Regions from separate parts of the Homo sapiens genome. Here all the other regions are linked to region 1. The links are contacts of gene promoters, found by promoter capture Hi-C in blood cells and fetal thymus (Javierre and others, 2016). All regions are on one chromosome and are shown on one strand. The core of a region is centred on a gene start or on the middle of the fragment in contact, and the rest is flanking DNA. Distances in the headings are between cores, read along the strand shown. Region 1 holds the start of AGAP2 (ArfGAP with GTPase domain, ankyrin repeat and PH domain 2). Region 2 holds the start of PYM1 (PYM1 exon junction complex associated factor). Region 3 overlaps RAB5B (RAB5B, member RAS oncogene family). Region 4 holds the start of PA2G4 (proliferation-associated 2G4). Region 5 holds the start of MYL6B (myosin light chain 6B). Region 6 overlaps SMARCC2 (SWI/SNF related BAF chromatin remodeling complex subunit C2). Region 7 overlaps LOC107984468 (a long non-coding RNA gene).

What was found. Contacts are between HindIII fragments. The CHiCAGO score rates a contact against its expected background, and 5 or more counts as called.
Region 2: a contact is called between the fragment with the promoter of PYM1 here and the fragment with the promoter of AGAP2 in region 1, in 1 of 17 cell types (monocytes). The highest score is 5.5, in monocytes.
Region 3: a fragment that was not itself captured here is called in contact with the fragment with the promoter of AGAP2 in region 1 in 1 of 17 cell types (monocytes); the score reaches 8.9 in monocytes.
Region 4: a contact is called between the fragment with the promoter of PA2G4 here and the fragment with the promoter of AGAP2 in region 1, in 1 of 17 cell types (monocytes). The highest score is 7.8, in monocytes.
Region 5: a contact is called between the fragment with the promoter of MYL6B here and the fragment with the promoter of AGAP2 in region 1, in 1 of 17 cell types (monocytes). The highest score is 9.0, in monocytes.
Region 6: a contact is called between a fragment that was not itself captured here and the fragment with the promoter of AGAP2 in region 1, in 1 of 17 cell types (monocytes). The highest score is 6.9, in monocytes.
Region 7: a contact is called between a fragment that was not itself captured here and the fragment with the promoter of AGAP2 in region 1, in 1 of 17 cell types (monocytes). The highest score is 5.4, in monocytes.

Annotation. Positions count from the first base shown.
Region 1 is chr12:57,736,876-57,741,193 of GRCh38, reverse strand. AGAP2 (ArfGAP with GTPase domain, ankyrin repeat and PH domain 2) reads left to right here and starts at 2,452. Exons shown (of 19, transcript NM_001122772.3): 1 at 2,452-4,115. The coding sequence starts at 2,948. RefSeq lists a silencer at 3,080-3,299. The HindIII fragment of the contact is 3,748 bases long and covers 462-4,209 here.
Region 2 is chr12:55,925,848-55,930,165 of GRCh38, reverse strand. PYM1 (PYM1 exon junction complex associated factor) reads left to right here and starts at 2,272. Exons shown (of 3, transcript NM_032345.3): 1 at 2,272-2,441. The coding sequence starts at 2,405. It also overlaps a transcript of DGKA not described here. RefSeq lists enhancers at 2,001-2,581, 2,661-2,830, 2,871-3,090, 2,582-3,162 and a silencer at 3,181-3,330. The HindIII fragment of the contact is 1,291 bases long and covers 2,231-3,521 here.
Region 3 is chr12:55,975,133-55,979,450 of GRCh38, reverse strand. The region is part of intron 1 of RAB5B (RAB5B, member RAS oncogene family); the gene reads right to left. Among named protein-coding and RNA genes, the nearest start is that of RAB5B, 3.2 kb to the right of the region's middle. The HindIII fragment of the contact is 1,194 bases long and covers 1,502-2,695 here.
Region 4 is chr12:56,102,089-56,106,406 of GRCh38, reverse strand. It overlaps PA2G4 (proliferation-associated 2G4), which reads right to left and starts at 1,848. Exons shown (of 13, transcript NM_006191.3): 1 at 1,582-1,848. The coding sequence starts at 1,669. ERBB3 (erb-b2 receptor tyrosine kinase 3) reads right to left here. Exons shown (of 28, transcript NM_001982.4): 28 at 2,902-4,318. LOC105369782 (a long non-coding RNA gene) reads left to right here and starts at 1,988. Exons shown (of 2, transcript XR_944995.4): 1 at 1,988-2,119; 2 at 2,489-2,593. RefSeq lists enhancers at 1,574-1,793, 1,804-2,153. The HindIII fragment of the contact is 2,269 bases long and covers 785-3,053 here.
Region 5 is chr12:56,150,417-56,154,734 of GRCh38, reverse strand. It overlaps MYL6B (myosin light chain 6B), which reads right to left and starts at 2,148. Exons shown (of 8, transcript NM_002475.5): 1 at 2,104-2,148; 2 at 643-862. The coding sequence starts at 816. It overlaps LOC124902942, which reads right to left and starts at 2,908. Exons shown (of 3, transcript XM_047429954.1): 1 at 2,688-2,908; 2 at 2,104-2,329; 3 at 838-926. The coding sequence starts at 2,741. The coding sequence ends at 892. It overlaps MYL6B-AS1 (MYL6B antisense RNA 1), which reads left to right. Exons shown (of 3, transcript NR_186043.1): 3 at 3,750-3,939. It overlaps LOC124902943 (a long non-coding RNA gene), which reads left to right and starts at 862. Exons shown (of 2, transcript XR_007063328.1): 1 at 862-1,606. RefSeq lists an enhancer at 2,995-3,074. The HindIII fragment of the contact is 15,658 bases long and covers 1-4,318 here.
Region 6 is chr12:56,172,526-56,176,843 of GRCh38, reverse strand. It overlaps SMARCC2 (SWI/SNF related BAF chromatin remodeling complex subunit C2), which reads left to right. Exons shown (of 29, transcript NM_001330288.2): 16 at 2,080-2,193; 17 at 2,995-3,148; 18 at 3,815-3,907; 19 at 4,140-4,259. Among named protein-coding and RNA genes, the nearest start is that of SMARCC2, 15 kb to the left of the region's middle. The HindIII fragment of the contact is 6,713 bases long and covers 1-4,318 here.
Region 7 is chr12:56,191,575-56,195,892 of GRCh38, reverse strand. LOC107984468 (a long non-coding RNA gene) reads right to left here. Exons shown (of 2, transcript XR_007063330.1): 2 at 876-2,800. Among named protein-coding and RNA genes, the nearest start is that of TRS-CGA4-1, 3.4 kb to the right of the region's middle. The HindIII fragment of the contact is 1,406 bases long and covers 1,541-2,946 here.

The DNA.
Region 1 (4,318 bases), core at 1,203-3,702:
CCCCAGGCTTCAGTCCTGTGGTGGAGCCCTGGCAGGAACAGCTTCTCTCCATCCACAAGGCCCTACCACTGAGGAACTGGTGGAACTGGAGGTTGTTCCAGCTCGCTGTCATTCCATTCACCTCTGATGCAGCAAAGAGCTAACAAAAGCAGCCTTCTTTGCTCATGAAAGGTGTCTGGTGGAAACACTTCTTCCATCATATCCTGATCTCTTCCAGCCATTTCAGTCTTCTCCATTGTTACCTGCCTACCTGGGTGGTTGTCAAGAGATCATTCTTTCCCTCAAGGACACCTCCTGCCAGACCTCTCTGCTAGTACACCAGAGTATAACTTGGGGAAGGAACAGCTTGCTTTGGATGCCTAGTGGGACAGTCTGATGATCCCCTTCCCATTGTTCTTCGGAGGCTAGTGCCCCTCTCACCTCCTGTCCCATACCCTTTGCCAGGAACTACACCTGAAGCTTCCCCTGACAGCCTTAGTGTTTGGAAAGGCAGACCAAGGGGGAGTGGGCCATGGGGCCTCCTAGGGAGAAACTCTAAGCCCCACCCCTCTCAAAAATAATAATGATAATAATAATAAAGGAGAAGAGCGGTTTAGGCCAGGCAGAAAAGCTGTGCTTAGCTCTGGAGAGGGAGGAGGGTGAGGAGGGGTGGAGGTGGAAATCCCTGAGAAGGCTTCACTCCTCATAAGTGATTTGTTTTACTCCTTCTCTAAGAATTAGTATTCTGTTCCCATTGAACATAAAGGAAAACCGAGGCCATCAAAGGAGGGAAGTTTAAGCCAGAGCCAACAATTCTCCTTCACCCTCTCCATCAAAAAACACTACTGAAGGGTCTCCTGTCCTGGGGATGGTGTCATCTTGGTTCTGTAGGGAGGGAGGGAGAAACTGCTGAGCCCCAGGACAGAACATTGGAGGGATTGGATACAGGCCTCTGGGAGAACAAAGGGCTCCTGGCATCCTGGCTCAGCCCCCCCACCCTCAGCCCCCCACCAGGCCAAGCACGCTGCGGGCTCCTGCCTCCAAGAGCCGCCCACGGCAGCACTTATTATAGTCTCAGCTGCGTCAGGAGGGTGGGACGCCAAATCAGGGGACTGCTGTGACTCCCCAAGTCCCGGGAAGGGGTCTCCAAGGCTGCAGAGAGACCTTCCTTCGCCCATCTTACCCCACCCCCAAGGGGTCTCAACCTCTTTTCCACTTTGGCCTAACCACTTCAGGATTCTCACCTGGCTGGAGGATAGAGAGCCTTGAACTCCAAGACCCCTAGAGGGGTGGGGGACACGGAGCAGACGGTTTCCATTCACTCTGCCTGCCTCCTCTTTAATCTTCTGAAAGAATCCCACTCAGCAAACCTCAGGAGACTGAAAGGGAACCCTGAAGAGGCCGGCTCTCACTGCCTCAACTGAAGGGTCCTTATACTTGGGGAGTGAAATCCTCCACCTGTGGGTAGCCAGGTGTCAGGGCAGTGCCTCCACTAATTCAGCATCCCGCGGTTGGTCCCCTACCCACCATACACACGGATTCCTCTCTGCTTCTGCCCGCTGTTTCTGAGGCACTCTTGGAGCTACGGTTGCTATGGAGACTGGATGCATTTTGGCATGGGGGGGTATCAGTCTAAGACACATCCTTCTCCCTCCTCCTAGAGCTGGAGCCTTTGACTTACCCTGTGGCCTGGGCTCCTCCAGCACTCAGATCTCTCCCTTCTCTCCTACCCTGCTAAGTTCCATGTTTGTCCCCATCCCTGGGGAACATTTTCCAAGTTCACTTTGGGACAGTCGAGCTCAAGTCTTGGCCCCGTCAAAGTATTAAATGTGGTGGTGTGAGTGGGAAAGGGAGCTGGGTCATGAGAACGGGAACCGTCCAGGTACCTGGGGGAGACAAGAGATCCTGGGGGAAGGGATTTCAGGGCCCCCACTTTCCCACTTCATCTTCCCCAGAATTGGCAGTGACCCTGGGTTTGCTCTGTTTACCGCGGCCCCTGTCCACCCAATAGATCGATTTTCACCCTTATCCCTAAATGCCATACCTCACAATCGCGCTTCCTAACCTTGGTGCGCGAGAGGAGGGGGCTAGGTTGTTGGAGGAGGTGAGTCCAAGTCCCAGGAAATCCAGCCCAGGATTTGGGAGAGAAATCCAGCCCTGGATTTTGCACCGCCCTCGCAGACATCGGTGCTGGTGGAGAAAAGGTGGGGGGGAGATAGGGTGGGGGGGCCTGGGGGCCGCCTCCTCCTCAATGTGAGGGGAGCGCCCGGACACAGCGCGCATCCGGACCAAGCCGAGCCCAGGCGAGGCCCCCGGACTCTTCGCCCGGATCTCACGCCCCTCCCCTCCCAGACCCCAGACCCGTGGGTTCCCACCCACCTCCCGTTCCCTCTTTCCTCCCCCGCCGCCTCCTGTATCTCCATCCCCAGCATCCTCCCCGCGCCCCTGCGAATCCCCCGCACGGCCAGCCCCACTAGCTTCCCACCCTCCTCTAGACCCTCTTTCCGACCGCATCCGCGGCCCCTGTCCCTTGAGTCCCAATTCCCCGCCCCTGCCTCCCCCGCACAGGTTCGTTTCCCCTAGCCTCCGGTCCCCTTTTCTGCTCCCTTTTCCTCTCTCTCCCCCATTTGCCCCCACTACTGTCCTCCCCGCCCTCCCCCACCCATCTCAGCGCCCCCACCCAGGCCGGGGTGGACGGTCCGGCGCGCCTCCCTGGAGCAGCACCAAGGTCCCGGGGCTCCAAGAGGGTGGGGGCGCAGGGCGGGGAGCATGGGGAGGGGGCGCCCCATGTGATGGGAGGGGGGCGCAAGCGGAGGCGGCGGAGGCGGCGGCGACAGCGGAGCCGGGCCGGGGGCTCAGCGGGGTCCGGGGGCTGGGGGCAGCGAGCAGGGCGGCCCCATGGCCGGGCCCCCCTGAGGCAGTCCGGGGGAGTCCCCTCCCCTCCCCAGCTCGGGGGTCTCCGGGCCCCATGAGCCGGGGCGCGGGCGCGCTTCAGCGCCGGACAACGACCTACCTCATCTCGCTGACCCTGGTTAAGCTCGAGTCGGTGCCTCCGCCGCCGCCTTCTCCGTCTGCGGCCGCGGCCGGCGCCGCCGGTGCCAGAGGCTCCGAGACTGGGGATCCTGGCAGCCCCCGAGGCGCGGAGGAGCCGGGCAAGAAGCGGCACGAACGTCTCTTCCACCGGCAGGATGCGCTGTGGATCAGCACGAGCAGCGCGGGCACCGGGGGCGCGGAGCCCCCAGCCCTGTCCCCGGCTCCGGCCAGTCCGGCCCGCCCAGTCTCCCCCGCTCCCGGCCGCCGCCTCTCCCTCTGGGCCGTCCCTCCGGGACCCCCGCTCTCCGGGGGACTGAGCCCCGACCCCAAGCCTGGGGGCGCCCCCACCTCCTCCCGGCGCCCCCTGCTCAGCAGCCCGAGCTGGGGCGGCCCGGAGCCCGAAGGCCGGGCGGGCGGCGGCATCCCTGGCTCATCCTCTCCGCACCCTGGCACCGGCAGCCGGAGGCTCAAGGTGGCGCCTCCTCCGCCGGCTCCCAAGCCTTGCAAGACCGTGACCACGAGTGGAGCCAAAGCCGGCGGGGGCAAGGGCGCGGGTAGCCGCCTGTCATGGCCCGAAAGCGAGGGCAAGCCCAGGGTCAAGGGGTCAAAGAGCAGCGCCGGGACTGGAGCTTCGGTCTCTGCCGCCGCCACCGCCGCCGCCGCCGGGGGAGGGGGCTCTACAGCTTCGACCTCTGGTGGGGTCGGGGCTGGGGCTGGAGCCCGAGGGAAGTTGTCCCCTCGGAAAGGCAAGAGTAAGACCTTGGACAACAGTGACTTGCATCCGGGACCGCCTGCCGGCTCTCCTCCTCCGCTAACCCTCCCACCAACTCCGAGTCCAGCCACTGCTGTCACCGCTGCTTCCGCGCAGCCCCCCGGGCCTGCACCTCCAATCACTCTGGAGCCTCCAGCTCCGGGGCTGAAACGGGGCCGGGAGGGGGGCCGAGCATCCACTCGTGACCGCAAGATGCTCAAGTTTATCAGCGGCATCTTCACCAAGAGCACAGGAGGGCCTCCTGGCTCCGGGCCCCTTCCCGGACCCCCCAGCCTGTCTTCTGGCAGCGGGTCCAGGGAGCTGCTGGGCGCCGAGCTCCGCGCTTCCCCTAGTGAGTTGAGTCAGGGCTTGAGAACAGGGAGGGAAGGGTACCTGGAATGCTCAGCTTGGGGTGGAGGAGCGAGGTCCAGGAAACTAGGGAAGCTTTTCTCTGGGGTGGGCGGATGAACCAAGCTCACCCCTCTGTCAAGGATTGGGGCAAAGAATAGGAGTCCTGAAGCGGGGCGAGTAGCTACATTGTGCGACAGGAGAAAG
Region 2 (4,318 bases), core at 1,023-3,522, 1.8 Mb after region 1:
GAGTGGTGCAATGTGTGTAAAGCCTCTCTGCTCTGAGCTACTTTAAACAAACATACAATGTAAGAATAGGTCCCCTAACACCTCTGCCTATCAGTTTTCTGTCCCTGGATCTTTCATTTAGAAATCTTGGAACGATATTAATCTCTAAGGCACTCAGCTTTCCTTGCAAAGAATGCTCAAAGTAATGCCACCCTATGTATTACCTGTGTTTCTCACTCTATCGTCTTTAGATATGTCCCTAAATAAAGTTGAAGACACTCCTTTTAAGATAGTTTTTGGTACTTCAAAGTGGGGTGTAATGTTATCTCTCGAATAAGGAATAAGGTGGAATCAGTCTTACTCTAGACTTCTTTGTGTCTTCTTTAGGATCTGTGCTCCATCATACCCCAAGTCAGTTACTGGGGGGTGTGGGTGGGGGAAGAAAAGCCAAGAAACATCTAAGAAGGAGGCGTTTAATGCCTACGGTTCCAGGTGCTCATTTCTTTAATCAACCACATCATAAAAATCAGAAAGAAAGAAACCGCAATGAACAAAGGGAAAGGAAAAAACAACAGCCTGTTCTCCCCGGCCTTTTTTGCCCTGTTCCTCCTCAGGGTGGGGGGCCACATCCGGGGCCCCGGGTTGGGTCCCAGGCAGGTCTACTAAGCAGACAATTGAGTTTCACTTCCTGTCAACCCTAGTGCTGAGGCAGGATGTCTGGGGGTGGGAAGGGGGCCTAGGGTTGGTAGTGAACAGGGGCGACTTTAGGTTTCCCTCCTGCACAAAGGTCTATTGAGCAGCCTCTGAAAGCTGCAGAGACCACTCCTGAGGTAGTTCAGTCAAGACCAACGTATCCCATTAGTTCTTAGAGGCTTCATCCCACACTCTCACGTCTAATCATAACAAGGTTAAGGACAAGATGTTAGACCCTGCAGGGCTGAAGTACAATCGGTGAAAAGAGAGCAAGGGTTTAAGACCACAGTGTCACAACACTTGCAATAACAGTGTATCGTATGCAAATACTTTTTATTTATTTATTTTGAGACTGAGTCTTGCTCTATAATACAAGCTGGAGTGCAGTGGCACGATCTTGGCTCACTGCAACCTCCACCTCCCAGGTTCATTCCTCAGCCTCCCGAGTAGCTGGGATTACAGGCACTCGCCACCACACCCGGCTAATTTTTGTATTTTTAGTAGAGATGGGATTTCACCATGTTGGCCATGGCTGGTCTCGAACTCCTGACCTCAAGTGATCTGCCCACCTGGGCCTCCCAAAGTGCTGGGATTACAGGCATGAGACACCGCACCCGGCCTGGAAATACTTTTTAAATGAGCCCCACCCCCAGACATTCTGAATTGGCCTCTAGTGGAAGTCACAGACATGGAGGATGGGAAGGAAGGCAAGCTGCGGCCCCCAGAAAACTTCTGAGGCCTAATTTGTCTTATAAAGGTCCTAGTCAGCCATTGCTCAGTTTTTTAGTTTTTTTTTTTTTTTTTTTTTTTTTTTTTTGAGACGGGGTCCCACTCTGTCGTCCAAGCTGGAGTGCAGTGGAGCGATCTTGGCTCACTGCAACCTCCGCCTCCCAGATTCAAGAAATTCTCTGCCTCAGCCTCCCGAGTAGCTGAGATTACAGGCACCCGCCACCACGCCCGGCTAATTTTTTTGTATTTTTAGTAGAGACGGGGTTTCGCCATCTTGGCCAGGTTGGTCTTGAACTCCGGACCTCGTGATCCACCCGCCTTGGCCTCCCAAAGTGCTGGGATTACAGGCGTGAGCAACCGCGCCTGGGTTTTGTTTTGTTTTTTAAATGGGACATGCTGCCTAGTGTTGGAGGTAGTCACCAATACTTACCTCCTGCCTCCTCCCTGGTTCCAGGGGTACTGCTGGACATTAAACTAAGCCAAAGTGGGGATATAAGCAGGAAGGTAAAAGGGTTGATAAGGAAAAAGCTATATGAGGGTGGAGGAGGGCAGAGTTGACACCTGAGGAGAGGAACCTGCAGCCGGGCTCCTCTCAGGCTGTAGGGGAAACAAGTTTAACAGGACTTAGCCCTGAAGGAACAACAGTTGCTGAAATGGGCGGCGGAGGGAGACCATATGGGTTCGTCTGCAGAATAGGGAGGTACGGCGCAGGGCAGGACTACAAATGGAGTGACACTACGGGACCGGATTATTGGCGAGTTGCCCCGCTTTAGATCCTCAGCGGTTGGACGAGTTTAATTAGAATACTAAGTAGGTCCGCCCAGAAGCTTTCACCCTGCCCTCTGACCCTAGGGCCCAGCCCGAGGAGGCACTCAGGGTTAGGAGGTCTGGGCGAGAAGCAACTAGGGCCCTCATCACTTCGCCGCCGAATCCCCGGCGCCGCCCAGCGGGGCAGAGCCAGGCCAGGGCCGCCCGCCCAACCTGGTCCGCTGCCTCTTCGGCCATGGAAGCTGCCGGCAGCCCTGCGGCTACGGAGACAGGTGACCGACCCGCGGCGCCCTCCGCCTTGCACGCCCCTCCCGCGGGTCTCTGGTGGTTGAGTGGGTTGGCCGACAGCAATCGGCACACGAATTCGACCTCCCCACCTTCTTAGGGTTAGATAGGGTCTCCAACCGTCCCTAGAAACACTTGTGCGCCCCAGTGCGTTCCTGGAGTTTGTCTGCTCCACGTCACCAAGCCGCTCTGAGATCTGGGTGCAGGCCAGAGCCTGGATATTCTTCCTTTCTTCATTTATAAGGCCCCCTTTTTGGGTGCAGGTGGGCCTTGCGCCCTTTTCCCTCGCAGGTCCTGGACGTACGAGGAGTTCCTGGGGATGAGAGGGACTGTGCCTCGGAACTTCTCTTGGCTCCCTGAGGACTGTTTTACAGGCAGCAAGCGCTCAGTAATGGTATCGGTGGCAGTAAAAAGCCCACGGCTTTATTTTATTAACTATTTCAGCTTCTCCACTCTTCCTCCTCCTCCACCTCCGCCCATGAAATGGTGCACTCTCCCTTTAAGACTAAGATGGTGGCTTGCTACGATCGGGACTCCACTTCCGGTGGGGAGGGGGGCGGGACCCCAGCCCGCTCACGCCGGAAGTGGTTTGCGTTTTCAAGATGGCGACTCCCTATGTTACTGACGAGACCGGCGGTGAGTGCGGGAGGCGCGGAGCCGCTTCTCTCCGGGCTCTCGGGGCAGGGGTTCGGACTTGGAAAGGGGTCTGTGCCCCGCCCATCCCGGGGCCCCTCCTTTGCCCCGCCCCCCGGACCGCCTTCCCCATTCATTCTCTCCTACGGGGTGTCTCCTGCGCCCCCTTCTGGTCTCGTGTTTGGGGTCTCTGCTTCCGGTCACCCAAACCCTGGGGTCCTTCAGTGCTGGTCCCTGCTTCAGGACCCTCACGGGCCCTTAGCTTTTCTCCAGCAGTTGGACCACTCATATCTCTTTTAGGTTCTTCAGGCTTGGGGGCTTCTACACTCTCATTTCCCTCCAGTTCCTGCCCTCCTTCTTTTCCCCTCCCCCATCTCAGCTATACTTGGTTTCTGCCCTACCCCAGTCCCGTTTTCATTATTTTTCTCGAAGCTTTATTTGCTGAAGACCTCCTCGTTTCTACATAGTACCTTTTCCTCTCCCGTATCTTCATTTGTTGGGTCACTGAGGTTTAGAGGTGTGAAGGGAAGAGGACCCTAATACAACTTTCAGCTTGAGTTTTCTCCCTGATGGAGCCACCCTTCGCTACCTTCTCCCGTGATGGTGATAGAAATTGAGGGGTCTAAGGTGGGAAAAGGCAAACAGGAAAGTATCTAGTGGCTTTTCTCCGAAGCCCTTTGACAAGTGAATAAAACCCACTATTCCTTCTGGCTAGAGAAGAATTTGCAGCCTGGCTGGCCGAGATGCTGAAGTGTCTGCTGTGTATGTAAGGTGTATGTGTTGGAAACGGAGAATCACAGCTTTTATCATGGTTTTGTCCCTTCCTAATGGCCTCATCTTTAGGAAAATATGCATAGTAGTAATAGCTACTCAATGATGATCAAATAATATATGTAAAAGCAATTTATAAAATACTGTGCAAGTGCAAAGTGTTTCTGTTTTTGTAGCCCTCATATGTGTAGTCTGTAGTCTGTAGAAGCAACAGTGTGCCTGTGCCTTGGTACACACGGTGTTTTAAAATGTGCCATTTTGCTTCTTGCTCTGCTGCTTTCCATGTTCCTTACACCTCAGCCCACCTATTTTATGGTATCTGATGACAACCCAGGTTGCTGCTACTTCTCCCCAACCTCACAATTTAAAGTGGTACTACCTCTTTCCTTCTGTTCTCTACCCAGTAGCTCCTTCATGAATTACCAACTTTTAATGTGTGTTTTGAAAATACTACTTATCC
Region 3 (4,318 bases), core at 849-3,348, 1.8 Mb after region 1:
TTAAACCCAAGTCACCAAAATCTTGAAATGAGAGTTCTACCACTTGGCTCAGCTCTTCATTTTGTTGATCCAGTGTTACCTAATGAGTCATTGGATTAAATGAGATTCCTTCCACATCTCGCACCCTTTCCCTTATATTTCTCCAAGAGGCAAAAAGCATACTTACCTCTTATCAGTATGGTAGTACAAACTCCCTATTATTGACCTAGGTAAGATTGGAATGCCCGTCCCTACTTGTCTGCCTAGCAAAATTCTATATATCTCATAAGACCAAGCTCAAATGTTACTTCAGTGAAATTACATAATCACCCTCTCCCCCACAGAATTAATCATTCTCTAGAGGCCCGTAGGGTCCCACAGTATTAAGACTGTATTTCTGGCCAGGTGTGGTGGCGCACACCTGTAATCCCAGCACTTTGAGAGGCCAAGGCAGATGGATCACTGGAGGTTAGGAGTTCGAGACCAGCCTGGCCAATATGGTGAAACCCCGTCTCTACTAAAAATACAAAAATTAGCTGGGCATGTTGGCACAGGCTTGTAATCCCAGTTACCCAGGAGGCTGAGACATGAGAATTGCTTGAGCCCGGGAGGCGGAGGTTGCAGTGAGCACAGATTGCACCACTGTACTCCAGCCTGGACAGCAAAGCAAGAATCCGTCTCAAAAAAAAAAAAAAAAGACTGTATTTCTATAATAGTATGTATCACATTATCACAGTATATAAATTGTGTCTGTCTGCTCTGCTAAACTATGAACTTCTTTAAAAGTGGGAGTTTATCTTAAAATCTTCAGAGCACAGCATGCTGCCTGATCCCTAGTAGGTGCTCATTAAATGCTCCCTAAATTAAGGCTAAGTAATTCTACTTCTCTCCCCCAATCAACTCCTCCCTTTCTGTACCATCTGGACAGATCTTACTCAATTCCATTTGGGTTCTTTTTTTTTTTTCCTGAGACGGAGTCTTGCTCAGTCGCCCAGGCTGGAGTGCAGTGACGCGATCTCGGCTCACTGCAAGCTCTGCCTCCCAGGTTCACGCCATTCTCCTGCTTCAGCCTCCCGAGAAGCTGGGGGACTACAGGCGCCCACCACCACGCCCAGCTAATTTTTTGTATTTTGTTTAGTAGAGACGGGGTTTCACCGTGTTAGCCAGGATGGTCTCAATCTCCTGACCTCGTGATCCACCCGCCTCAGCCTCCCAAAGTGCTGGGATTACAGGCGCATGCCACCGCACACGGCCCCATTTGGGAATATTTTTAATAGGCCTCAGAATCAATTCTCTCCCTGGCTCCTCTGTGATCTCCCTTGGATGGAGGGCCCCCTTGGGATCTTGCCCACAAGGTACTATTGCAACTCGCATGGGCTAACTGCTTTTCCTGTCACCCGTTACTATGCCTCAGATGGCCTAATCACACCCAATATGTGGCCCTCCCACCCAAACACTGAGGCAACTATAGCTAAAAACAAAGTTCGCTGAATTTTCAGTTGATGTTGAACGGTCAAAAGCTTTGGGCCACTATCTATTAATTCCTGACTTGAGAAACACAAGTTTAAAAAAAGGAGCCATAACACCACAGAACCAGGAGACACTCTGAAAAGGTACCCACTGTCCCTGAACAGAAGCTACAACCTTGCCCAGAAATGTACACATACTTTGTTCACCTGGGTAGCTCCTTATTCAGTTCAGTTACTGTTGAGTCAATGGCTAAATCTTTCCCAAAACGGAAGTGGGAGTATACCATGTAGGGTTTTATGGTATCCTTCCTCCAAGAGGGCTGCTGCATTTCCTTATTATAAGTTCATTGTCTCACACTTTGGTTACCTTCCAATCTGAAATGCTTTAGGATTAGGGAGCAAACTATACGCTTGCTTCTTCTACCCTATGCCTCCTTCTCAGAAGTAAAATTCATACCAATAAGCAATATTTGCTCCCAGGTAAAGTAAGAGTTAGAAGATATGAGGTATGTTATGCAGTAGGGATTGTCCAGGAAAAAAATTTTAAAAGATATGAGGTATGACTTGAAGGGCAATGGGAAAGCTCTCTTCTCCAAATATATTTTTGCAACTCCAGGTCTATGTATGAAATTCCTTATTGATAATTCTACTCCTAAACTCTCTTAGGATGCAAAAAACTGTTGGAAAAATTAGATAGGATTAAAACACACACACACACACGCACACACGGCCAGGCGCGGTGGCTCACTCCTGTAATCCCAGTGCTTTGGGAGGCTGAGGCACGTGGATCACCTGAGGTCAGGAGTTAGAGTCCAGCCTGGCCAACATGGTCAAATCCCGTCTCTACTAATAATACAAAAATTAGCTGGTCGTGGTGGTGCACGCCTGTAATCCCAGCTACTCTGGAGGCTGAGGCAGGAGAATCGCGTGAACCTAGGAGGCAGACGTTGCAGTGAGCCGAGATCATGCCACTGCACTCCAGCCTGGGTGACAAAAGTGAAACTCCGTCTAAAAACACACACACATACTCCTACACAACTGTCTCTAGGACTGGCTTGCAGGTGAGAAAAGTTCCTTGGGGGAAAAAACCGAGGTTTCCAATGGGCGCTGTACAAAGGCTGGGTACAACAGAGGGCTTTTAAAGCTAGTAAGGACAAATTCAATTAATAAGGTGGTAGTATGAAATGCCCCAGCTGTACTCTGACTCTGAGATTTAGAGGAAAACCGATTTCAAATCCAGATAAGCTTGGAGCTTCTCAGATCCCTACAGAAAGACACACACTGTACTCCAGCCTAAGTGACAAAGCAAGACCCTGTCTCTAAAAATAGAAGAAAAGAAAAGAAAGACAAATACAGGGGCCTCTTAGGAGAACCATCATCATCATGGATAAGAAAGGGATAGTCAAGTAATGTGAACATGCAGAGACCATGAACATCCAGAGACCATGAATTTGAGATAAGGGTCTGAAATTCCTTTCTTTAGCAGAGATGCCAACAATTATCCCAACCAAAATGATCCTTTCTCCCCATAAAGTTTTGTTCCATCTCTTTGGGCACTTCCTAGGACACCCAGCACACAACTTGGGGTGTGTGTGTTTGTGTGTACTCAAGGTGAATAACACACAGTACAGCCCTCTGCTTGTCGGACTTGGTAGAAGACAAAATGAACTGTGAAAGGAACACAATAAATAACAGAGTATCATCCCAGAAGGGAAAACTGTAGAAAGAATAAGACTAGAGTTTGATGAGAACATGAAAACACAATTGCCTTTTGTGACACATCCCCCAAAGCAAAGCAAGATTAGTCTGATTTGCTGTCTCTGATCCTTGACCTTCCTAAATGAAATATGAATAAGGTATGTGTGGGAGGATTTATACTTCTTAAACTGCTGTACACCTTCCATATTTTAAAATATGTACATATTAACTTTTGTAATTAAGAAATGTAGTGATGGCCGGGTGTGGTGGCTCACGCCTGTAATCCCAGCACTTTGGGAGGCCGAGGTGGGCGGATCATGAGGTCAAGAGATTGAGACCATCCTGGCCAACATGGTAAAACCCTGTCTCTACTAAAAATACAAAAATTAGCTGGGCGTGGTGGCGCACGCCTGTAGTCCCAGCTACTTGGGAGGCTGAGGCAGGAGAATCTCTTGAACCTGGGAGGTGGAGGTTGCAGTGAGACTCCGTCTCAAAAAAAAAAAAAAAAAAAAAAGAAATGTAGTGATAAAATATATTGGTAGAGACGCAGAAAAGGAGGAAGTACAGTAAGGGAAAATCCAATAGGCTCCAATCTATGAGGGACTAAGAAGGCTAGCAGACCATTAAAAATATGTGGGGAGGAGGGTACTCCACTCCTCTGCTTTGGCAATCTTTGTCTTTTTTTTTTTTGGAGACAGGGTCTCATTCTGTTGCCCAGGCTGGAGTGCAGTGGGAAGATCATGGCTCACTGCACCCTCGAACTCCCGGGCTCAAGTGATCCTCCTGTCTCAGCCTCCCAAAGTGCTGGGATTACAGGCGTGGGCTACTGCACCTCTGTATCTTTTTCTCTACTCACCATCTTCCCCAGATACTTCATAGTTTGACCCAACTTTCTAACAGCACAGAAATCTGGGCTTTTGAAGTAGACAAAGAACAAGGGGTGATGCCAAGCTTTTGAAATGGAATTTCTCACTCTTCCCCAAATCTCTTCCTCAGTGATATCACCGCATAGTTTCGGACCTGTTAACTCCATTACCTGCCTGGGAAATACCCAAGTCAAGTCTAAGTCCCACAAAAGTTTCACCAACTATGATCAGAAGATCTCCTGATGGCTGAGGATCTCTAAGCCCCTTTCCCATGTAGATAATGAAATAGATATGAAATAGATTCTC
Region 4 (4,318 bases), core at 599-3,098, 1.6 Mb after region 1:
CCATCTCCCTAGGCAAGGCCTCAGACTTTCCAAAGATGCTACCTTTGGTGTGACAGGACAGAGTTATGAACTTCAGAGGGTTCTTGCCATGGTATCCCCACATACACGCAAAGACTAGATGAAATTTATAGGCATCAGGGACAAGAAGGTAGACAGAATTGCTGACTCGAAGCCGATGCACTGTTAAATGTTACCGCATTCCTTTCTCAGACACTCTAATTAGGTGTTAGGAATCTCAATCTATATAGACTTATTTCCTCATAAACAAGTGCATAAGCCAAGGAAACTTAATCTAAGGTCCCTGGGTTTCATTTCGGGGGATCATGGCTTATCTAAAAGAAATATGAGGCCAAAGTTATAAACTGTAAGAGATTTTCTGATTCAAACCACTAGTATCTCAAATACTAAAAGGCACCAAAAACCAGGGTACGATACTAAATGTCCACTGTGATATAAAGCACAGGTTTGACTTTTGGTATCTCAGTTTTGGTGATTCTTTGAAAGCTGGTAAAACTCAGATTTTCACCCACAGGACGGGAGGCATCCTAAATACCTGTTCCCCACCATCTTTGCTGTTAAAACCATTTAAAAGCACAATGACAAGCAGTTTGTATCTCCCTAACTGGAATAAAATGGAAAGGCTAACTGGAAAGAGAGAAAAGAGAAAGTGGCATCTGCCTAGAGTGACAGGCAACTGCTGAGATCGTCAGAGCACACCTGGAGTAAGGATGACTTGTGAAAATCCTAAAATCAGTCCTCCCTTTTCCAGTAATGTTCACAAGCTTGCCTAGTTGGGATAAGACGGAGACCCCAAAACATTTGAGTTGTCAAGTCACTGAGAACAACAAATGTGAATGCTAACTAAGACTATCTGCACAGATTGGAAAGGTGGTAGTAATGAGTAACTTCAAGAAAAGCCATATATATCTCCAAGACTTGCATTAGAAGCTCCAGGAGTGCTCTCCAACGGTCTCCTTAGCTGGCCCAAGGTAGAAGGGGGCCCCCACCAGGGTAAGAGCTGAAGTAAAGAAGGAAAGGCTCCAGCAAAGCACGTGGTGGGGAAGCTGGTGGTGGGGAAGCTGGTGTCAGGGACACTAGCGGAGTAAGAAGGGGGCCAGCCATCCGCAATGGGACCCAGCAACACGTGCCGGCTTGGCTCCTGACGCCCCGGAGACGCTACAAAAACAGAGGGGCACTTCTGTCGCCAATAGCTGGGCGCTTCCTTTTCGAGGTGGCCTCGCCGCTGCCAGAATCAGAGGAAGCAATAATCGGGAATGAAGGATAGGAACAAGAGAAAACACGTCTTGCCTCCTAACAAACGGCCTCGGGTCGGAGCCTGCCAGGGTCCCCTCTCTGCGCTCATCCTGGTCGCCGACCCGCACCTCCATAGACTTCAGCCTGGGCCTGCCCGCTCAGGTCCCAGGCGCGACACCGGGTCTTCCCACCACGCCGTGCCCAGCGGACCGGTGCGGGCCCCTCAGTAGCTCAGTCCGCATGACCCCTCCGCTCCAGCCCCTTCCGGGCCAGCCTGTTACCTTTCCCTATCAGCCTTGATTCCCCGACCCCCGAGGCCGCACTCACTGTTGGCGATGTCGCCCCCCATCTTATACTTGGTCACGACCAGGTCCTCAGCGATAGTTTGCTCCTGTTGCTCGTCCTCGCCCGACATCTTCCTACTACCACCACTGCAGCCTCGTTTCCCCTGAGCCGCCGCCGCCTCTGTCTCCCTTCCCAGCCACAGGCTGTGGTCAGAGTCCCCTCGATCCTCGAGGAGAGGGCGAGCGAAAGCGCGAGCAAGCAAGGGAGCGGGCAGGCAGGCGAGAGCGAGAAGCTGCGAGCGCGCGGGCTGAGGCGCAGGGCACGCTGGGACAACTAGTCCTCTCGGCCGCCAGACTCTAGCCGCTCTCGAGGGCCTTCGAACTACAATTCCCAGCCTGCCTCTCGCGCTCCTAAGCCAGGCCCTGGGGCCTTGCCCTCCAAGGGCCTCGCACGCCGGAATCGCCGGGCACTCTGGGAAGGGTCAGGCTCCGGCGGGAAGGCGGAGCCGTTGGGGAGCTTGAGGGGAAGCGTGGTCTCTCCCGGAAAAACCACTTCCACCGAGAACGCTGAGCGAGAGCCAGTAACAGAGAGGGGCGGGCTGAGGGGAGAGGGGCGGAGCTACGGCGGGGAAATAGGTTTAAAGTCGAGCGGGCAGGGGTGGAGTAGAGTGGAGCCGCAGCGGGTGGGCAGTGTCTACACCTAGGTCGGGGAGGCTGGGTGCGCCCTTCTTCGGATCCCTGGGTCGGCTGGCGAAACCCGCCCAGCCGGTCCAGTCGTCCTCCGAAGCTGGGAGAACAGGGAGGGGCAGACAGGTGGAAGAAGACCAAGGGTGCTGGTAACGGGGGCTAACTGGGCAGCCAGACACCGGAGGGATCATCCATTTAAAGGCCTCGCAATCTAGAGGCCGGACTCCTAATGAAGTAACATGACTTTATTGTTCCAATAACAGGCACCTGGATGGAGCACCTAAGGGAAGTGTTCAGAAAGACATGTTTGTTGAGAGTTCTTACCGTGAAAAAATAAAAAGATTTGATGACTTTTCTAAGATAATGAATTCAGAAGCATCTGGAGGTTTCAGTGTTTGGCCTCTGAAGGAGGGCTTATAGGGCTTTTTATAAGTCCTAAAGCACGTAGGTTCTTTTTGTTATTCCCAATTGGTTGCCTTGTAGATTCCTACTAAAACCCTTAATGAAAAGGACTATGCGCTATGGTTGTTCTAAAGAAATAGAAGTAATAGTAGGACTAGAGAAAGCTGCATGGGACAGAGTAGCACTGTCAGAACACAGAAAGGTGAGTATCCACTGCTGAGGAGCAGATCTCTTATCTAACATACGAAATGTCTTCATTTGACAGACAGGAAGCTGAAAAAAAACTTTGGCATTTTTATTCAGACACGTATAAAAACAAAACAAAAAACTTCAGTGATACAACAGACGTTTTCCCTTAGTTCCCCATCCAAGGGGACAGAGGTGTGCAGCTGAAGCTGGATCTTTTTTCTGTCCTACCTGGAAGCTTCTCACTGCTGGATGAGAATGGCTTCTAAAAGTGGATCTTGGGGATCCTTGTGAATTTGCCCTCGGATAAGGAGTGAAGATCATTTACGGCACATGTGGATTATGGTTTACACAAAGATGTCCAGTTATTTTTCCTTCTGACTACCCCCACCACCACTTCCTGAGATGAGATGTCTAGGTATAGGAGGATGTGGCTGTTGGGGTTAGACTTGATTCAGTGCAAAAACAAGAAACAGTGCCCCTTAAACAAGGGCTGTAACTTAAATCAGTTTTTCTTGGCACCTTACAATAAGAGCACATGCACAGGAATTGGGAGGATTTTGCATCCTGGATCTACTGCTTAATTTATTTCATCTCTTTAAGGCTCAGTTTCTTTTTTTTTTTTCCCCTGTAGAGACAGTGTCTTGCTATGTTTCCATAGGCTTATCTCTAATTCTGGGCTCAAGTGATCTTCCCATCTCAGCCTCCCAAAGTGCTGGCTGGGATTACAGGCATGAGCCACTGCACCCAGTTCTAAAGTTTTTTTTTTTTTTTTTTTTTTTTTTTTAAAGAGATGGGGGTCTTACTATGTTGGCTAAGCTGGTCTCAAACTCCTTGCCTCAGGTAATCCTTCTGCCTCAGCCTCCCAAAGTGCTGAGATTACAGGCATGAGCCACCATGCCCGACTTCCCTTTGTGTAAAATGAGATAATATGTATGTCACAGAATTGTTTTAAGGATGATAAAGGACTAAGTGAGATAATGTAGGTGAAGTTTAGTATGATGCCTGGCTCATAGTTAAGTGCTGAATTATGATAGTAATCAATATCTACTCCTAACCTCTTTCTTCACAGATTTTAAGCTTCTGTCTTTCTAGGGGGTTAAGAGTCATAAACCAAAATTACACTTTCCTCTGCTAGGTTTCCTCCCTTTCCTCTTCTTGACAGTCTGATGGGAAACAAAGGCACACATAAGAGCCTAGTTCCAAGTAGTCAAGAGCCTGAGAGGAAGGGATATGGAGAGTAATCCTTCATATCTCCAGGAGTGCCTGTGAAGAAGCTGAGGAATGGGACTGGGAAAGCACACAAAATAAGGAAAACCTTTCCTGGGGTTGGGAAAGAGAAGAAAGTGCACAGCTGGCTACATACCATAAGAATTTTGTGTCAAAATGTTTAAAAGCCTCCAAAGATTGAATGGAATTGTCTGGGACTGGGGAAAAGGGGCTGGGACCTGGGAGAGAGAGGGAATAGGGAGAAGACGGTACCCTCTAAAGGCACTAGCTGCCAT
Region 5 (4,318 bases), core at 899-3,398, 1.6 Mb after region 1:
GCCACTTCTGAGGAGGGGCCCAAAGGGACCAGGCTGGAAGCCCAGCCACCTCAGTCCCATTCCCAGCTCTGGGCCTTGGGAGAATCCCAAGAAGAGGAATTACAGTGGGGAGGGTTTCCTGGGAACAGGGTTAATCCCATGCCACCTGTTTCCCTCCCTCCATTGCCCTGAGCCCTGCATCCCACACATAACTGGGGGCTGAACAAAGGCTAAATTTACCCCTGGCCCCCAGCTGTGATTGTCTAACAAGTCTGTCCTCTTCAGCCTCCCCTCCTGGAGTTCAGAGCTGCAGGCCTTTTGAATTGAACCACCAGCCAGGGGCAGGCAACAGCTCTCTTCCCTTCACCTTGAAACTGTTCTCAGAACCCAGATGTTCCCCATCTAAGAGTCCCTGCCTCCAGCAGGGGGTAAGTGAGTGTGTATGTGCTGTACACACATGATTATAGGTTAGAGGGAGAGAACAGCAAAGACAACAGCAGAGTCATAAGACTGGATGCTTCCAAATGGGGGACTAAGGGAAAGCCCCAATCTCATTCCAGGGCTCACTGATTCCCTACCTTCTAGATACCCCCTAATCCCCTAGGCTGTATCCCACCCTCAAACCACCCCCTCCAATTCTATCTTCACTTTCCAGAGACTCACCACCACTTTGGAGAGATCGACTGGAGGCTCCTGGGTTTTCTGAGGGGCCTGGGGGACAGCTGGCTCAGCTTTGGTCTTGGCTGGAGGAGCCCCTGCTGCTGCTGGCTTAGCAGCAGGTTTGGAGATGGAGGGCCCTGCTGGTTTCTTCACGGGAACATCCTTCTTGGGAGGCATGATGTCCGGTGGCCAAAGGACAGTGTGCGGATGGGGGCACCCATCTCTGTTTAAATAGCCAGGGAGTCTGGGATGTCAAGGGGCGGGGGCAGGGGCAGGGAGCCAGTTGGCTGTGGCAAAGATGAGGTAGAGGAGAGATATAACCGCCTGCCCTCACTCCCCTGGCCTCCTATGGTTCAGGACTCCTGCCCCAAGGTCTTCTTCCCTCTGTCCCCTTATCCCCAAAGGCTGACCAGAAAAGAACAATGTTTCCTTTAGGGGTAGGGGAGGAAGCCAGAGACTGCCCAGAATGAGGTAGTTAACCTCCAGGGTGAGGATAGGATGCTTGCCAGTGGCACTGAGATGGGGGTGGTGAGGCAAAGCAGGTGATCCAGCAGCTTTAGTCTTCTTGAAGGGTGGGGTGAGGGGTAGCAGCCAGGGAGGCTTGTGTGAACTGGAACAAGTTAAAGTGTGGTCTGGGAGCAATGACAAAAACAAGAAGCCCATCTGCCCAGCCCCTCCACTCCCTTCTGACCATGGCTTTGTAAAGAGCAGGGGTAGTTAACCTTAGAGTCTAATGATCCCTAATACTTGTAGTTCCTGAGCCCCCACCCAGCCAAGAACTGGAACTATTCACAGTATAAAGGAAGAATAGTCATAAAAACAGGAGTATGACATCCCTCATTGTCTCCTGTGCCCAGTGTTGTTTTAGGGGCAGGAGTGGGGGCAAAGATCAGGTTTAACATCTGCTACCCATTCTTCCATGGAAGAAACCTTCCACAAGCCCACGGTCATTCAAGACAAACAAAAGGTAGGGTGCTTGCTGAACCTGTGGGGACCCTTTGGTGGCACCTGAGGAGAAGGGCAGGCTCTGGGAGACGGCTTAAATTCCCTAATCCAAGAGGATGTGGGCGCTCCTATGGCTCCATGAGTATTCACCCCACAACCAGGGGTATAATAAAAATCCTGACTCAGGGGCCAGGTCACAAACCTTGCCAGGGGCGCTGGGAGAGAGTCCAAGTTGGGGGGCGTTTGGGAGTGGGGAGGGATTGCAGGCTACTTTTGTTCTGGGGTAAATTAGGAAAGGATTTAGGTAGCATTCTGAGGAAGATAGCAGTGATTCCACTTAGGCCCCGGGGTTGATGCTGGGTCTCCCATTCGCAAAACAGCGTCTGAATCTCATGACTGCAAATTGTCCCATTTTTACAAAATACATCACACACACACGACACACACACACACACACACACTCACGCACCCCCACTAAATCTTAAAGAAAATGGCCCTCCTCAGCCCCCAAAAACTCACCCTGCGGGGTCCGTGTCTGGGGCTGGGGAGGGGGCGGGGCATAGCGCGGCCCCCAGCCCTGAAGGGTTAATTCCGGTGGCCGCGGAGCATGCCGGGAGTCGTAGTTCCCCGCGGGCTCACGGGATGCGCCGCGCTCTAGATTGCAGTTGACGCGAGGGCGGTGGCTTCCGGCCCATGGCGGTGGTTGGTGACTCAGTGTCCTTCCAGCGCGCTTTATGTCCCGGAACTGAAAGGCAATGAACAATTTCCAATCCACCCCAACCCTAAAAACCCTGCGGGGCCCCTAGGGTATCCCTCCTACTTAACCCTGGCGGGCTCCTAGTCTCGGGAGGTGGAGGGGGCGGGGCGGCTGTTTTCCTGGACCTACTGCTGAAAGAACTCAGAACCTGGGGAAAGATTGAGGCTGCAGCAGGCAGCGTGGAGGTCAGATAGCTGGAAGCACTTAACGGCCCCGGGGAGAACCGCTGCACTCTCTTTTGCTTCCTCTCGCGGTTTGGTAGAAAAAAAAGAGGCCTCAGAGTAGTTTGTTTTTAATGAGCTGGTTGCTGAAGTAAATGTTAAAATTTGCAATTAAGCCCAGTCACCTGCCCCAGCCTTCTCTGATCGAGGTTTCCATCCTGCGGCAGCATATGCGCCATCCTCCTCGATCTTCACAGGTCTCTGAGCGGAGGGCTGGGCTTTCCAGCCCTACTTTCTGAAACTCTTATGGTCAGCATTGGAGTTCACTGGTTCCCCTAGGCGTTGATCAGAGGATGGGAACCAGCCCGGCCGGGCCCACCTTCACTCACTGGATCAGTAAATACCCTGGCGGTGCACCTGGTGTTGGAAGCTGGTGCTGCACAGGCGTGTGAGGATTAGATCAGAGCAGAAAACTCGGGCGATGGCAGGGTGGTGAGGCACAGGTGAACTTTATGGGCAGTAAGTGAGGTTCACTGGTTGGGGAAAGTTTATTGGAAAGGTAGAAATGAATTGTACGACAGAAATAACGATAATAGTAAGTTAGCAACCATTTCTGGAGGCCGCCATAGATCTCGTACCGGTGAAGGGGCTAAATTATCTCAGAGGGTGCTCAAGTGGATGGGGTTCAGACAGCCTACTCAGATTTAAATCCTGGTTCTACCAGGTCCTAGTTAGTGACCCTCAGCAGGTTTAGTTATCTCTCCTGGGCCTCAGTTCCTCATCTGTAAAATAATGATAATGGTACCTACCTCATAGGGCTCTTCGGAGGATTCGAAGTGTTATTATTGGTAAAATAGGGCCGGGCTTGGTGGCTCACACCTCCCAGCACTTTGGGAGGCGAGGCAGGTGGGTCACCTGAGGTCAGGAGTTCGAGACCAGCCTGGCCAACATGGTGAAACCCTGTCACTACTAAAAATACAAAAAAAAAAAAAAAAAAAAAAAAAAAAAAAAATAGCTGGGCCTGGTGGCGGGCGCCTGTAATCTCAGTTACTTGGGAGGCTGAGGTCGGAGAATCACTTGAACCCGGCAGGTTGCAGTGAGCCGAGATCGCACCACTGCACTCCAGCCTGGGTGACAGAGTGAGACTCCAACTCAAAAAAAAAAAAAAGTGTAAAATAGAATAGGCCTGGCACAGCATAAGTGCTGTATAAGTTTTTGTTAAATAACTTTCCTTTAATCTTCCCAAGGTATGAGGTCGCTGATATTTTCCCCATTTTACATCAATGAAGTAAGGATCAATAGGTGTTGTGAAGAGACGGAGAGGAAGAAGGAATACATTTTTAAGTGGTTATAAGACTGGGAAAGGGCCACATTATAGATGCCTTTGTGTGGCTTTCATTACTTTTGCAGACATTGATTTCAAAATATGGCTCTTGTAATTTTTTTTCTTTCCTTTTCCCATTTTTGGCATTTTGCCAAGTATGAGTGGTTATGGCATCATCTGACTTTCTAGCATTTTCTATAGAGAAGTAGTACAGGGAAAAAACGTTAAGACCCTTGCAGAGATGGGAAGGCTATCCTTCATTTTCTGTGCCATCCCTGTCTTGATCATAAATAACAGGAACTGGACGAAACATGGTCTTAACTGGGCATAGGGTGATTATATATGTGAATTATCTGTGAGAAATGCCTGTCTCTCCTCTCTCCTCTCCCTGCTTAGCATGTGATTTGTATATTCTTATTTTTCTTTGGTTTTGTTTTTTTCTAGAAATGAGGTCTCACTGTGTTACCCAGTCTCAAACTGAGCTCAAGTGAT
Region 6 (4,318 bases), core at 740-3,239, 1.6 Mb after region 1:
GTCTCAAAAAAAACAAAAAAACAAAAACAAAAAAAATTAGCCGGGCGTGGTGGCATGCATCTGTAGTCCCAGCTAGTCTGGAGGCTGAGGCAGGAGAATCACTTGAACCTGAGAGGCAGAGGTTGCAGTGAGCCGAGATCACGCCACTGCACTCCAGCCGGGGTGACAGAGCGAGACTCCGTCTCAAAAAAAAAAAAAATTAGCTGGGCGTGGTGGCAGGCGCCTGTAGTTCCAGCTACTTGGGAGGCTGAGGCAGGAGAATGGCATGAACCTGGGAGACAGAGCTTGCAGTGAGCCGAGATTGCGCCACTGCACTCCAGCCTGGGCGACAGAGCAAGACTCCGTCTCAAGAAAAAAAAAAAGATTTTGCCTCAGGCCAAACCTGCTTGGCTTTGGATAAGACATGGCAGTCTTCTTTGGTTAGGAATACTTCAAGATAACCACATTGATGAGGTGGGTGAGACTGAGAACTGAACAAGTTTTCTTCCCAGCTATTCCACAGCTTCCCCTCTCTGGGGGTCCCTCCGTGTTTTTTCTTCATAGCTTGCTATGGTTCTCTCTTCCTTCTCTTCCTGGAGAAAGCAGTATGTGTGAAAAGAAAGTAGTGATCAGGTGAAATGAATTCAACATGACATGCAGGCAGGGTTGGAGTAGGAACTGAACTCTTGGTATAAAATAGTAAATGATGGCTGGGCATGGTGGCTCACGCCTGTAATTCCAGCACTTTGGGAGGCCCAGGCGGGCAGATCACGAGGTCAGGAGTTCGAGACCAGCCAGGCCAACATGGTGAAACCCCGTCTCTACTAAAAATACAAAAATTAGCTGGGTGTGGAGGCACGCACCTGTAATCCCAGCTACTTGGGAGGCTGAGGCAGGAGAATCACTTGAGCCCGGGAGGTGGAGGTTGCAGTGAGCCAAGATCTCATCATTGTACTCCAGCCTGGGCAACAAGAGTGAAACTCCATCTCAGAAAAAAAAAAATAGTAAATGATGATAATTGCCTGCATCTATTGAGAGCTTAGTATCTCCCAGGCACTATACTAAATGTCCAACCTACATTGAGTAATTTAATCTTTACGTCAACCTTAGAGGTAGATATCATCTTCAGTTGACAGATAGGGTATAGAGGAGTCAAGTCACCTGCATAAAGTCACAGAGCTAGTAAATAAAACCAGGATCTGAATCCTTTAATCTGGCCCATGATCTGAAACTTTACACTGTACCACATGATAGCTGCCATTTTTTTGAGCCCCTACAATGCGCCAGGCACTATACTAGTACTTTATAGACCTCTCAACAGACATTCCATTTTACAAATGAGGAAACTGAGGTTTAAAAATTCGAAGTAAATTGCCAAGGTCCTCATGGTAGAACTGGGATTTGAACTTAGATCTTTTCAACTTCAAAACATATGTTTTTTACCGTGGTATGCTGACTAGCTATATGCATGAATAAGGACTTCCTTTTAACATCTGAGTTTGGAAATGAGTATTTTCTTAACTTCTAATTCCTTGTTTAAAAATTGTATAAAATGGCTAGGTGCAGTGGCTCATGCCTGTAATCCCAGCACTTTGGGAGGCTGAGGCAGGAGGCTCACCTGAGGTCAGGAGTTTGAGACCAGCCTGACCAACATGGAGAAACCCTGTCTCTACTAAAAATACAAAATTAGCCGGCCGTGGTGGCACATGCCTGTAATCAGAGCTACTGAGGAGGCTGAGGCAGGAGAATCTCTTGAACCCAGGAGGCGGAAGTTGCCATGAGCCAAGATCATGCCATTGCATTCCAGCCTGGGCAACAAGAGGGAAACTCCATCTCAAAAAAAAAAATTGTATGAAATATCCCTAAGTATAGCCAAGGAGATAATTCATTTAAAGAAAACCCCATCAAGGAAAAGTAAGACATATTTGAAACCCTTTCATCTAGCACATAGCAGGCACTCAGCATGTAGAGTCAAATAATCTACTTTTTTCCATCTTTATCATGCAGGAGAAGTCATTAGCTCTCTTACCATTTTTTCCTTTAGCCCTTTAACAAACATTTATTTTTCTTCTTCTTGTTTCTCTCTCTCTTTCTTCTAAGCTACCTGGCCTATCGAAACTTTATGATTGACACTTACCGACTGAACCCCCAAGAGTATCTTACCTCTACCGCCTGCCGCCGAAACCTAGCGGGTGATGTCTGTGCCATCATGAGGTGGGTCTTGTGGCTGAGGGGAAGGGGGTACATGAGGATGCCTGCCTATGGATGTGTTTTGGCAACAGTAGAGATGCCAGCAAGGAACACAGAGGAGCAGACAGAAAAAAGCACCTCTAGAGAAAGGTGAAGTACAGGTTTGGGGAATGAATGACTTGAGGGATTAGCAATGGCATTCTCTGAAGTGTAGAATATAGGACAAAGAAGGAGCATGTCTGTAATTGAAAGATACTGGTTCAGGCCAGGTGTGGTGGCTCATGCCTATAATCCAAACATTTTGGGAGACCAAGGTGGGAGGATTGCTGGAGCCCAGAAGTTCGAGACCAGCCTGGACAAAATGGCAAAACCCCATCTCTAGAGAAAATGCAAAAAAATTAGCTAGGCATGGTGGCACGTGCCTGTGGTCTTAGTGACTCAGGAGGCTGAGGTGGGAGGATCCCCTGAGCCCTGGAGGTGGAGGCTGCAGTGAGCGGTGATCACACCACTGCACTTCAGTCTCTCTTAGGGAAAAAAAGAAAGAAACTGGTTCAGTTTTACTAGCTATTCAGGAAGAAATGTTCGGTAGGTAGGTAGATATAGAGATTGGCCCAGGCTGAAGATGTAGACTTGGGTGTCACTGGCATTTAGGTGATAAATGAACAACTGGAGTAGGTGAGATTTCTTAAGGAGTACAATGAACAGAGGAAAAGGCCGGGGTTGGGTGGGGAGGGGGTTTATGCCCCTTCTACCCCCCACTTTTCCTCTTCCTCGTGCACCTTTCTGGCTATCCGTGTGACCCTGTCTCTGCCTCTCTCTGCACAGGGTCCATGCCTTCCTAGAACAGTGGGGTCTTATTAACTACCAGGTGGATGCTGAGAGTCGACCAACCCCAATGGGGCCTCCGCCTACCTCTCACTTCCATGTCTTGGCTGACACACCATCAGGGCTGGTGCCTCTGCAGCCCAAGACACCTCAGGTAGGGTGAGGTGCTATGGGGATGGGGCGGGTTGGGAAGATTGGGCTTCTTTGAACTTTTCTTTTTCTGGTTTTTAGGGTAATGGTTCAGGAGTGTTTTGAGGCTTCTTCCTTTTCCATGGGATGCAAAGGGTCACGGGAATCAGCCCCATGTGTTTAGCATCCTCTCTCAGCCTTTGTACCTAAGGCTGTAATTGCTGAGGGAGAAGAGATTATCCTTTTACTCAAGGAGTAGACAGGCTAATGTAGGGGAGTCAATAGAGAAAAATGGCTTAAAATTAACTTGCATGAAATTTTTAAACTTTGTCATCTTTGCCACATTTTTTCATTTTTGCCTCATAATTATCATCTTCATTTTTTTTTCCATTTCCACTTCATCCATTACAAAAATTAGGAAGAAGGTTATGTGGCTTGCCCAAGGTCACAGAGTACCAAATCTAGGATTAGAACCTAATTGTCCAGCTCCTAAGAGAACCTATAAAGATAATGTGAATATGTATGGATATCATGCCAACGACATGTCTTATTAATCATGAAGGGAACATGGAACAGTGGCATGAGTGCCCCCAGAGCTTGTGGGCCGCCCAGCATATGGTCTTGAGGCCTCCAGGGCCTTGGCCTGGTCATTTCCTGCCCAGCCTCCATGACGCCAAGCTCTGTCCCCCAGGGCCGCCAGGTTGATGCTGATACCAAGGCTGGGCGAAAGGGCAAAGAGCTGGATGACCTGGTGCCAGAGACGGCTAAGGGCAAGCCAGAGCTGGTAGGTGGGGTGCAGACCCTGCTGGGCTGCTCATTTTCCCCTTTATTGGGGGGCCCCTGCCCGGGAAGAAGAGACATGAGAGCAGAGGAACTACAGCAGTAAGGGAGGAAGTCCCACCCAGGGGTGTCCCTGGCTTTGGGAAAGAAGCTCCTTCTGTCTGTTTTTTCTCTCTGTCAGCCCCTGGCTCCCGGTGGTCACTTGTACTCACCTGTTTCTTTCCCTCCACAAATAGCAGACCTCTGCTTCCCAACAAATGCTCAACTTTCCTGACAAAGGCAAAGAGAAACCAACAGACATGCAAAACTTTGGGCTGCGCACAGACATGTACACAAAAAAGAATGTTCCCTCCAAGGTAGGAGGTGCGGGCCGACTCTAGGGGTAGAGAATGTTCGCTCCTCAGAGGTCACAGGC
Region 7 (4,318 bases), core at 994-3,493, 1.5 Mb after region 1:
GCCGGTGCGGTGGCTCACGCCTGTAATCCCAGCACTTTGGGAGGCCAAGGCAGGTGGATCACGAGGTTAAGAGAGTGAGACCATCCTGGCCAACATGGTAAAACCTCATCTCTACTAAAAATACAAAAATTAGCTGGGCGTGGTAGCATGTGCCTATAGTCCCAGCTACTCCGGAGGCTGAGACAGGAGAATCACTTGAATCCAGGAGGCGGAGGTTGCAGTGAGCCGAGATGGCGCCACGGCACTCCAGCCTGGAGACAGAGTGAGACTCTGTCTCAAAAAAAAAAAAAAAGTTAGTTACATAAAAATAATTTTAAGTCCAGGCCCAGTGGCTCATGCCTGTAATCCCAGCACTTTGGGAAGCCGAGGTGAGAGGATCACTTGAGGTCAGGAGTTCATGACCAGCCTGGCAGCATGGTAAAATCCTGTCTCTACAATGCAAAAATAAGGCGGTGTGGTGGCGTGCGCCTATAATCCTAGCTACTCGGGAGGCTGAGGCAGGAGAATCCCTTGACCCTGGGAGGCAGAGGTTATACAGTGAGCCATGATCGCACCACTGCACTCCAGCCTGGGCGACAAAGTGAGACTAATTTTTTTTTTGAGACAAAGTCTCACTCTGTCGCCCAGGCTGGAGTGCAGTGGTGCGATCACGGCTCACTGCAACCTCTGCCTCCGGGGTTCAAGCGATTCTCGTGCCCCAGCCTCCTGAGTAGCTAGGATTACAGGCATGCGCCACTATGCCCGGATAATTTTTTTATTTTTAGTAGAGACGGGGTTTCACCATGTTGGCCAGGCTGGTCTCAAACTCCTGACCTCAGGTGATCCACCCGCCTCGGCCTCCCAAAGTGCTGGAATTACAGGCGTGAGCCACCGTGTCCAGGCAAAATAATAATACTTTTAAGATCTAAGAATTTATTGCTGAAAAGATCATTATATGGTGAGACTACCTAGTTAGTAAAGAGAAGGAACTTCATGAGGGATGGCAGGGGTTGGGCTGTCACACGGAGATGACCAGCCAGATTAGATGGAAGGTATCTTAGTGGAAAGATGTAAGGGTAAGAAAAACGGGCAATTTAGGCAGGGTATGTTGATAATAGGATCATGTGTTTGTTTAGATGGGGAACTGAGTTCCTGGACAGGGGAATAATATGATGAAAGCAGTGTAATCACACTAATATAGGGTGGATTTCAGTGTGGTGAAACTAGGGCACCTTGAAGGCCATCGTAACAGGCATGAATTAAGATGATGTGCTTGGGGAAGCAACTGATGAATCAGTGTGATGGGCTTGGGAGAAAACAAACTTCAGATAATTAATTCTTAGAGCTGGAAATGAAGGAATTGAGTGAATAGTGGTATCAACAAAAGTGGGAAAAGTTCAGAACGATGATTGTGAGAGAGGAAGAGAAGCTTTGTTTGCATATTAGGTGACACTAGGTCAGCTGTGCAGAGATGTGAACAGCTGGAGATAAAGGACCATGGTTTAGCTGAGGACATACCTGGAAAGGTGGCTCTGAGATTTTGTCTCGGGAGAATGAAGCTTTGGTGGAAATTCCACAGGAGGAAGAAGAAAGCAAATGAGGTGGAGAAGCAGTATACTGAGAAGGAGAAAAACAATAAGTGTTTCTGAAGGCCAGTAAGAAATCAATGTTGTTTCAAACACAGAAAGGATGGAGACTGAGAAGAGATTATTAAATTTGTCCAGTGGTTTCTATTAACGTCTAAAAAACTTCAGGAGGCCGGGCGCGGTGGCTCACACCTGTAATCTCAGCACTTGGGGAGGCTGAGGCAGGTGGATCACTTGAGGTCAGGAGTTCAAAACCAGCCTGGTCAACATAGCAAAACCCCGTCCCTACTAAAAATACAAAAAAAAAAAATTAGCCAGGCGCATGGTGACAGGGACCTGTAATACCAGCTACTTGGGAGGCTGAGGCAGGAGAATTGCTTGAACCTGGGAGGTGGTGGTTGCAGTGAGCCGAGCTTGTGCCACTGCACTCCAGCCTAGGTGAGAGAGCAAGACTCTGTCTCAAAAAAAAATAAAAAGTAAAAAAGTAAAAAAGAAAAAAAAACCAAAACACTTCAGGAGGCAGAAACCAGATGACGGGGTATCTGATAGTATGGAACTGGAGGCAGAAAGGTATACATTTTATTCGAAAAATAAAAGGAAGTAGAAAACAATGTGGAAATTTGAAAGTGTCAAATGAAGGTGGGGTTTTGTTTGTACTGAATTCATGAAGGATTGATCCAGTGGAGTAGAGGAATTTTAAGGTGTTATGGAAGGATATTTATGGAAGGTTCCTTAGGAGGTTTAAATGAGTGGGACTACAGGCTTAAGTGGAGAAGGTTACTTCAGGGAAAATATGGAAGGCCACATACTGTAGCAGGAACTAAAGAATGCCAGTGGGTGATATGTAAATATGTAAGAATGGTGAGAGAGAGGGGGCCAGATCATGCAAGGTAAAGAAAGGTAAAAGAATAGTTAGGATTTGTTGGAGTGGAAGAGGAAGGGTGAAGGAATTGGGGAGATGGGGTGGGTACATGGGGATGGTAGAAATTTAAAATGATCTATTGTATATGAAGGTTTGAAGCCTCGGCCTCTCACCCACAAAAGTTACAAGAGAAGCATTTGAGAGTAAAAGGGATGAACTTCAAGTAGCAAACTACCTCTGCCATATTTCCCTTCTTGGTCCAGATCCTCCATTTTGTAAACCATGGAGCCTTCTTCCCTTCACAACATAGTTGTTGGTTGCCCTCTGCTGGTCAATTCTGGTCTTGGCTCTCCAGATATTTAAATATGAGAACCTGTGCAAATTGGGATTTGGTAGGAAGGAGAATCATGAGCCTATGAGATTTTATAAATTCATTCAACACATAGTTGATCACATCTATAAGGCCTTGTAGAGAAGATACAAATAAATAAAATACACAGCCCTAACTCTCAAGAAGCTTATATACCAGTCTAAAGATTAAAACATGTACACATAACTACTGTAAAAAACACCCATTTATGCAAAAAAATTTTAAAAACTGACTCCTTATCTGTGTTTAATGTGTTTATATGCCACAGGGGAAGAAAGACTTCACATAATAAGTTGAGAGCATAGGATGTGGTAGGCAACAAGTGGTCAGAGAAAACTCCACAGGAGAACCAACATTTAGGTGGAGAATGAGTAGAAAGTGTGGAAGAGAAAGATTATTCCAGGCAGAGAACACCATGAGCAAGGCTAAATAACTACCAGGAAGAACTAAAAGAATGCCAGTGGACAGAATGTAGTGAATATGGAAGAGTGGTGAGAGAAAAGGGGTCATATCCTGCAACACAGAAAGCAGCCATAGAAGGGTTTAAGGTCCCGGACTGCAGTGTGGATGCTTTAGTGCAGTTTTCTATATATTACCTCGTATGGTGCTCACAAATACCACTACCTTCCAAATGAAGGCTCTAGCTCAGCCTGCACTCACCCCTGAGAAAAGTGAGCATATTTGAGACATATTTAGAAGGTAAAATAAATGGAACCTGTTTCTATTTTATTTTAATTTTATTTTATTTGAGACAGAGTCTTGCTGCATCGCCCAAGCTGGAGTGCAGTGGCACGATCTTGGCTCACTGCAACCTCTGCCTCTTGGGTTCAAGTGATTTCTCCTACCTCAGCTTCCCAAGTAGCTGGGATTACAGGCGCCCGCCAACCACACCCAGCTAATTTTTGCATTTTTAGTAGAGATGGGATTTCACTACATTGGCCAGGCTGGTCTTGAACTCCTGACCTCGTGATCCGCCTGCCTCAGCCTCCCAAAGTGCTGGGATTACAGGCGTGAGCCACCACACCCACCCCTGTTTTTATTTTATTTTTATGTTAGCATATCAAGGGAGAAGTCCTTGCATGCAATTTAGTGAATGGTGGTGGTGGTAGACTGACAGGCAGCTGGAGTGATCAAGAGCATCAAAGAGGAGGGGCCTAAAGAATTTTGGAAAGTGTTAATGGTGAGGGACAGGGAGGCAATGTGAGGGTCATGCTGGAAATAACAGCCTGAGCAGTGGTATGAAGGTGGGAAACTCTAAGGTATAAATGTGTAGAAAGCTCTATGTATTACCCTAGAGCCCCCTGCCCTTTGGGATTCCTTTTGGACAAAAGGCTGTGCAAGAAATACAAAAAGAACATCCTTGGCCAGGCACAGTGGCTCACACCTGTAATCCCACCACTTTGGGAGGCTGAGGCAGGCGGATTGCTTGAGTCCAGGAGTTTGAGACCAGTCTGGGCAACATGGCGAAATCCCAGAACGCCGTCTCTACTAAAAATACAAAAAGTTAGCTGGGCGTGGTGG